Linked DNA regions of Homo sapiens: region 1 is linked to region 2. The links are contacts of gene promoters, found by promoter capture Hi-C in blood cells and fetal thymus (Javierre and others, 2016). All regions are on one chromosome and are shown on one strand. The core of a region is centred on a gene start or on the middle of the fragment in contact, and the rest is flanking DNA. Distances in the headings are between cores, read along the strand shown.

Region 1 (3,869 bases), core at 277-2,776, 470 kb before region 2:
CACTTGGAAGGAGAGAGAGAAGGAGGGGAGAGAGAAGGAGCTATTAAAGGGAGCTGTGACTTTGTTGGTTTGGGGAGGAGTTGGGTGAGGAAGAAGAGGGCACAGATATAGGGTTTGGGAATAGGGACATGACATATCCTTTCCTGGGGACACAAGTATCTGTCACAGGCCCCTTCATGGCTGCCTGGAGCTGTGTGATCTGATTGAAACCCAGTGGCTCTCTGGCATCAGTGAGCATGCGACACCTGGTCCCATCTGGCTCTGTGCAGCACCGCAGTCTCTGCCTAGCAGATCTCTCCTTCAAACCAGCTCAAGAGGGTGTCCAGGTTCCATCCTGTCTCGTGGTAGAACAACTGCATATGCCACCCTTTATTCTGTCCCATTCTACCAATAGGAAACTTTCATTAGGCACCTACTGTGTGTCAGGGACTGTATTGGGGTGTAAGTCCACAAATGTCGATCAAATGTGATCCCTCCCTTCCAGGAACTTACTGTCTGGCAAAATTCTATTGCATTTAGAAAAGGTGGCTTGGCTTTTGACTTCAGGAGAGGCTGTTATTTGCTAGATCTGAACCCCAGAATTTAAAAGCAAGCAAAGCTTTGTTTAGGAGATCTATTGTACATCGTGGTTATTGTAGCTAATAACGATGTCTTCAATGCTTGAAAATTGCTGAGAGTAGTTTGGAAATGTTCTCGCTACAAAAATCGTAAGTATGATAGGTGATGGATATGTTTATTAGCTTGATGGGTCAGCCCACATGTGCATATACATGAAAACATCATGTTGTACATCACAAATAGATACATACATATAGATCTATGTGTGTACATATGTGTGTGTGTATGTATATATATATATATCGTTTCCATTTCTGTCAGTGACCACTTTTACCCCTTTCCTTGATGTACTTTGTTTCTTTCCTTCCTGCTTCGGATCTTCGAGACCTGCTCTGTCCCCTAAGTGTAACATTAGCGGGGGCAAAGGATGGAGGTGTGGCGGGCACTTCGGGGCCACCTCACCTATGCTGGTAACCAAGGTGCCCACCCTCGTCCTGGACAGGTTTCTGGCCTCCTCTAGGCTTTCCTTTCTGCTGCCGTCATGAAGTGGGCTGGGCAGATGGTCTCTCTGGCTCTTCCTATAATCCTGGGTGACCCATGCCCACCTGTGTGCCGCGGTTCAGTTCTCCCACTGATTCGCTGTGTGAATTTGGCGAGTTGCTTCTCTGGCTGTATCTCAGTTCCCTCTATCACATGGGGGCAATCCTGGTGTCTACTTCAGGTGTTTCTGGTTTCTAGGGCTGGCTGCATGAATTCATGTGAAGTAGCAGCTGCAGGCGGGGACAGGTGGGCAGTGTTGTTGGCAGCTTTGCTGTTCTGCTGCAGCGATGTGATGCCACTGTCACTCCTAGACTAGAGGTAAAGGATTTGTCTCATGTGCACGAATGGATCCCGGTTCAGGCTGGGCAGGGACCTCTGGGTAAAGAGATGCCACCTCTGGCAGGCGGGTCTCTGATCTTGGCTTCGGGGTCTCTCCTACCTGTTCTGGGTGCCTGAGAGCCAAGACAGTGCAACTCCATTGTTCTTCACACCCGTCTGCCTACAGGAAGTAGCCTCCCTGTGTCCCCTGCCACAGAACCCAGGGCTGTGCTGGAGAGGCAGGAAGGAAACCAGCCTTCCCAGCTAAGCAGCAGGGCGACAAGGAGGGGAGTCGCCGCCCAGACCTGCTGGCCACACAGTGGACAGAGCTGCACAGAGTCACCTCATGCACCCCCCGCAGCAGCTTCCCCTCCCCGGGAATAATGAGCAGCCGCTGAGCCATTGCTGGGCTCAGAGCCCCCATGGGGATGGAGAGGGACACACAGTGACAGCCCAGGCTTCAGACCCGGCAGCTTGCTCAGGCTCATTTATTCAAAGCTGCGCTCCTTCCCCTGCTCTTTCCCTCTGGGTTTTCCGAAAAGCTAACCCCGGCCCCTCCTGTCCAGAGAGATGGGGGCAGACGGGCCACGTTTCACAGTCACTCCCAGACAGCCCCTGTCTGCCATCCCACAGCTGCACCCACTCCTAAAGGGCAGGGAGCCACCCATCCAGCAGGTCCCGGGGTCCCGGGCAGAGTGGATGGGCAGGCAGTGCTGGGCACAGAGCGGCGGCTGTGGCTGTGCCATCCGGCCATGCGTGTCCAAACCCTGGCAGCTTAGCAGTCACTGGGGGCTCTGCAGTGACAAAGGGATTGTCAAAAAACACCCTTGGCGAAGAGCAGGAGCTGAGAGTGTCACTCTTCAGAGGAGACCGTGGTTCCTCCCAAAGCACAGATGGGAGTCACCTGATGGTTACTGCTTGTTTGCTGTTTGAATTTTTTTTTTTTTTTTGAGATACAATTAACTCAGAAGTGGCAACTCTTTTGACTTAGAATCTGTGAGATGCCCCAAGGGAATAGGTTAACAAGAAGAAGCTTAAGGGGCCTGCTTCACCATGGAGTGACCCAAGGTCGGCTGAGACCAAGGCCCGCCTGCCTTCCCAGCCCAGAGTGCCACAGGGACAGTGGAGAGAGAACACCAATGTCAATGCAGGCTTCGCACTGAGATCACTCATGTCACAACCAACCAGTGCTGAGTTCCCTTCAATTACACGGAAACGAGGTCTTCGGGGTTTCCATCTGAGGGTGTATGAGTTTCCTGTGTCTGCCATAACAAATAACCACAAACCTGATGGCTGGAAAATAACAGAAACTCACTCTCCCAAATTTCTGGAGGCAGCTGGAGGGGACAATCGCTTCCCCACCTCTTCCAGCTTCTAGTGACTGGGGTTCCTCGCCTGTGTCTTCATCACTCATCACTCAGGTCTCTGCCTCTGTCTTCTCTCCTGTATGTCTGTTTTTAAAAAACCCTCTGTATCTCTCTTATAAGGAGGCAATATATCCCAGGACCTTGGGAGGCCAAGGCAGGTGGATCCCTTGCGCTCAGGAGTTCGAGACCAGCCTGGCCAACATGTTGAAACGTCATCTCTACTAAAAACACAAAAAAATTAGCTGGGTGTGGTGGCACATGCCTATAATCCCAGCTACTTGGGTGGCTGAGGCATGAGAATTGCTTGAACCTGGGAGGTGGAGGTTGCAGTGAGCTGAGATCATGCCACTGCACTCCAGCCTGAGATCGTGCCACTGTACTCCAGCCCGCACTCCAGACCCCATCTCAGAAAAAAAAAAAAAAAAAAGGAGACAATATAATGGCACTTAGAGCCCACCAGGATTAGTTCCTCCTCCCAAGGATCACGTCTTTTGTGATGAAAGGTAATACTCACAGGTTCCAGTGACTGGGATGGGTACATATGTTTTTGGGGACCACCATTCAACCTGCTATAGAGTGTAACAAATCATGTCACACAAAGTTTACCACAACACAAGAGCACATGTGCCAAGTGTGACTAAGCTGCCTGTGTTGAGTGCTGTAGAAATCCAGAGGAGGGAGAGAGCATTTGTAGGCAGGATGGTCAGGGAGGGCTTCATGGAGGAAGTGGGCTTTGAGCAGGATAAAATTTAAATGGGAAGGGGGAGGGGGAGAATGGAATGTACAAAGATTTGGAAATAAAAATGAGATCAGTGTTTTCTTTAGTTCAATCAAATAGATTGAACAGAAATGGATATTTTTGTAGGGAACTGGGCAAAAGTGAGGTTGGATAGGTAAACTGGGGCTGGGTTCATAGGGTGGTCTTAAATACCAGGCTAGCATTTAGAACTTGATACTATATGGAGTGGGGATTTTGTTTTGTTTTGTTTTGTTTTGTTTGAGACAGAGTCTCACTCTGTCACCCAGGCTGGAGGGTAGTGGTGCGATCTCGGCTCACTGCAACCTCCATCTCCTAGGTTCAAGCGA
Region 2 (4,377 bases), core at 1,780-4,279:
TTCCTTTTCTTTTCTTTCTTTCTTTTTCTTTTTTCTTTTTTTTGAGACATCTTGCTCTGTCACCCAGGCTGGAGTGCAGTGGCATGATCCCAGCTCACTGCAACCTCTGCCTCCTGGGTTCAAGCGATTCTTCTGCCTCAGCTTCCCGAGAAGCTGGGATTACAGGCATATGCCACCACGCCCAGCTAATTTTTGTACGTTTAGTAGAGATGGGGTTCGCCATGTTGGCCAGGCTGGTCTCAAACTCCTGGCCTCAAGTGATCTGCCCACCTTGGCCTCCCAAAGTGCTGAGATTACAGGCATGAGCCACCACGCCCAGCCCAAATATTCCTTTTTTTCTAAGAATATGAGCCATAGGATTTAGGGCATATCACAATTGAGTATGACTTCATCTTACCTTGATTAAATCTGCAAATATTTTATTTCCAAGTAAGGCCACATTCACAGGTATGGGGGGCAGTGAGGATTTCAACACACCTTTTGTGGTGGACATAATTCAACCCATTGTATCTGCTAGCTGTAATCTTTCAAGTGAGTGAAGCTGGTAAATTAGTTCTTTTTGTTTTGTTCTGTTTTGTTTGAGACAGGGTCTTGCTATGTTACTCAGGCTAGAGTGTAGTGGCACGATTACAGCTCAATGTAGCCTTGAACTACTGGGCTCAAATGATTTACCTCAGCCTCTGAGGTAGTTAGGACTATAGGCATGCGCCATCACACCTGACTACTTCTTAAATTTTCTGTAGAGACGCGGTTTCATTATGTTGCCCAGGCTGGTCTCAACCTCCTGGCCTCAAGTGATCCTCCTGTCTTGGCCTCCCAAAGCCCTGGGGTTACAGGCACCCTGAGCTACCCTGCTCAGCGGTAAACTGGTATTTTTAATAAGCCCCAACCAGACAATGCAACCCAGGAGAACCATCTCTTGGACGGAACCAGCAGAGCCTGAGAATCCAGCGGGGATGGCTCCCTAGAATGGGGTTCTGGTGAGCCCGGGAGTTGCGGGGGAGCGTAGGACTAGCTCAAAGCAGTACCCAAGGAAGAAGCTCTCATCACCGGCAAAGAAAAGGATGCATGACTCTGCCAGATGATCTGGGCCAAGGCTGTAGTGTGGCCCTGGATGAAGTAAGGCATCTGTGGCTTACGGCCTCTGCGGCAGAGAACTGCTTCCCGGTGAGCTCGTGGTGGGTGGAGGCGGGGAGGAAGAGTCGGTTCTGAGGATGGTGGCCTCCCACCGACGCAGCGGGGATCGGCCTCTGTCCCGCCCAGCCACTTGATTTCCAAGTTCTGCAGAGCTCTGTCCAAGGTCTCTTTCACTTTTTTCCTGAGCTCTCCCTTCGGGGTTAATCTCACCTCTTACGGAGGCTTCGAACACCATTTACATGCTGATGGCACCCAGATTTGCATCTCTGAGCCCCATCCCCACACCAAATTCCGGACCTGTTTCCCTATTAACTTTGGTCTGGAATATCCGGCAGACCTGAGATTTGCAACTCTGAGCCCCACCCCCACACCATCCGGCAGACCTCAGATTTAACATTTCCAAAGCTGAACTCACCCCGAAACTTGTTTGCCTTTCAGCAGTTCTTAGATAAATTATTAGCATCGCTCCTCATTCCCTCCCCCACCCCCCACCCCCGCAAACTGGAAACCTGGGGGTCATCTTATCCTTCTTCCTCTCCTTCCTACGTGCTAAATCACACCAAATCCCTTCCCTGGGCTGCATTCCCCTTGCTTTCAGTTCAAGTACATCTCCGGGCTTGACTAGTACAATACCCTCTTAATGAGAACCGTGACCCTGTCTTCCCCTCTGGGAGAAGCCATCCTCCAGTGGCAGGCGCCTGTAATCCCAGCTACTGGGGAGGCTGAGGCAGGAGAATCACCTGAACCCAGGAGGCGGAGGTTGCAGTGAGCCGAGATCGCGCCACTGCACTCCAGCCTGGCGACAGAGTGGGACTCCGTCTCAAAATAAATAAATAAATAAATATAAAATAAAAGAATGCAGACTAACACGTTCTTTGCAAACTTACTACAGGGTATGAAGAAAGTACACAAAGACAGGAGCAGCCTGTCTTCGAGGTGGCATCACTTCTGCATCCAGCCCAGGATTAAAACCCGGAGCAACTGGCAAGCGGAAATGTTAACGAAAAGGGCATCTGCGTAGCGTGCCAACCTGCCGTGCCACGTAAAGCACGGTCCAGTGACCCAAAACATTTCTGCTCCCAAATAACATTTGGAAAATGCTGACCTACTGCCTAGAAAAGTTCGATCGGCATTCCTGCACACTGCTGTTTTAGAGAGAAGCCCTAAACGATATCTGAAAGTATTTGGTTTATTTTCATCAGCAATGCTTTAGAATCTCGAAAGCCCAGAAAAAAGTTATTTCACGACGTGAAGCTCCCCCCTCGATGTCAATTCGAACACATCCAGGGTTGCGGCTGCCATGTTCGCTCGAACATGTGCAGGACAAACAATGCAACCAGCGGGGAACCGTAAACCTTTTTCCTCGACTTCCTACCACGCACATGAAGTGTTCAAGAAACTTTGCAGGACGTCTCCACATTTCACGAGGCTCCCGTGAACTCCGGAGCCGAGCTAAACAATAGGAAGGACAGATGCTGGGAGTCCCCAAGCATCTAACGCGCCGTTTGTGTTTTCAAAAAACCTCTGCCTGGCGCCCAGGCGGCTTTTCCTGGGCTCCTAGCCTCCTGTGCAAATTGTTCCCATGGTCATTGTCTTCCAGGACGCTCCGCTGCGCACTCGGGGAGCGGGGACAGCGCCCCGCAGAGCGCCGCGCGGTCGAGCCCGGCCAGGTGGCGGAAACGTTCCCGGCCCTTGCAGCGGGGCCCGGGAAAAAGGTGGCCCGGGCGCCAAGGGCGGCTGCCAATGCAACTCGCAACTTTTGAAATCAATCCTTTTTTGCATCATGCAACGGATGCCACCGCTCCTCGGGTTTGCAACCCCCCACCCCTCCCCCGAGACCAATCATTGCCGCGCTCGGGGCTGCACGGCGCCCCCGCCCCCTTCCCGGGCCGCACGCCGCCACCCAGCAGCCAGGGCCGCCTCTTAAAGGGAGGTGGCCGGCCTTAAAGGACCCCCGCGCGCCCAGCCGGCGGGAGCGCGGCGGCCCGGCTCCCGCAGGGCCGCGCCGAGGCAGGCGAGCCCCCGCGGCGCCCAGGCGCGGGCCCGGGCCCCCGCCGCCGCCGCCGCCGCCGGGCGCGGCATTTTTATTCAGGCGACGCTTAAGGGAGCCCGGCCGCGCCCGGTGCATTGTGGGAGCGGCCCGCGGCCCGTTTTCGGGAGGAGGCGGAGGGCGCAAAGCGAGCCGGTAAGCGGCGGGCCCGGCGCGGGGGGGAGGCGCAGGCTTAAAGGGGAATCTGGGTCCGCAGGCCCGCGGCGGCCGTTGCAAATCCCCCTCCGGGCCGCCCGGGACCGCCGGGGAGCCGCGCGCCGCCGGCCCCGCCAGCCCTGCCTGGAGAGGGGCAGCGCCGGGCTTGGTGGGGCCGCTTTAAAAAAGAAGCGCCGCCCGCGCCGCCGCCGCCGCCGCGCGGGGCCGGGGAAGGAGGGAGGGAGGGCGGGGAGGAGCGGAGGGGAGGGCGGCGGCGGCCACGCAGGGGTTAATTTTTTCGCCCGCCGACATTTTTGCGCGGCGGCGGCGGCGGCCCGTGCGCGCGGCGGGAGCGGCCGGCCTGGGGTCGCGGGGTGCCTCCGGGGCCTCCCCGCCTCCCCTTTTCTCCGCGCGGGCCCTGTCGACCCGGGGCGGGTGCGTCCCGGCGTCCTCCCCGGCTCCTGGGCCGCACGCGCGGTGCCCGCCGGCTCCCGCCGCCTCCCGCCGGCCCGAACAGGGATGGCCCGGCCGGGGCCCCGAGCTGCCGCCTCCGCCCCGCCGCCGGCCCGCAGCCCGGGCCTGCTGGGCCTTCCGAGGCGGCGGCGAGGGCCTGAGCCTGAGCCTGAGCCCGAAGGTGTCCCCGGGTTCCTTGCTCCCCTCCCCGGCCGCCTCCGACGCGGGCGTCCTGGAGAGCGCGCCCCATTGTGCGGGGCCGGCGGGGAGGTAGGTCCGGGGTTGGCGGGGCAGCGCGCCGGGCCCACCCCGCTGACCGGCTCCCCGGCTCCCCACGCTCGTTGGAAGAAAAAAAAAAACCAAACCATGGAAATGTGCCCGGGAAGGAAAGGGCTAAACGTTGCTTTAAATATTCATGCCATTGTTTTAAAGGCGTAAACATGTGGCTGCGGGGTCGCCGGGCACCGTCCCTTATTAATGCAAATGGATCCCCCTGGTTCCCTAATCACTGCACATTTCCCCCAGAACCCCCTCCCCCTTCCCATGCCCTCCAAAAATGTAAGAATCTAGTACTTTTTTCATTAGGATGTGAGGCTGATTTG

What was found. Contacts are between HindIII fragments. The CHiCAGO score rates a contact against its expected background, and 5 or more counts as called.
Region 1: a contact is called between a fragment that was not itself captured here and the fragment with the promoter of SEPHS1 in region 2, in 1 of 17 cell types (neutrophils). The highest score is 5.3, in neutrophils.

The regions. Positions count from the first base shown.
Region 1 is chr10:13,819,041-13,822,909 of GRCh38, reverse strand. All of the region lies in intron 3 of FRMD4A (FERM domain containing 4A), which reads left to right. Among named protein-coding and RNA genes, the nearest start is that of FRMD4A-AS2, 170 kb to the left of the region's middle. The HindIII fragment of the contact is 1,851 bases long and covers 601-2,451 here.
Region 2 is chr10:13,346,945-13,351,321 of GRCh38, reverse strand. It overlaps SEPHS1 (selenophosphate synthetase 1), which reads left to right and starts at 3,029. Exons shown (of 9, transcript NM_012247.5): 1 at 3,029-3,322. RefSeq lists enhancers at 1,262-2,053, 2,054-2,844 and silencers at 2,914-3,133, 3,264-4,093. The HindIII fragment of the contact is 15,925 bases long and covers 1-4,377 here.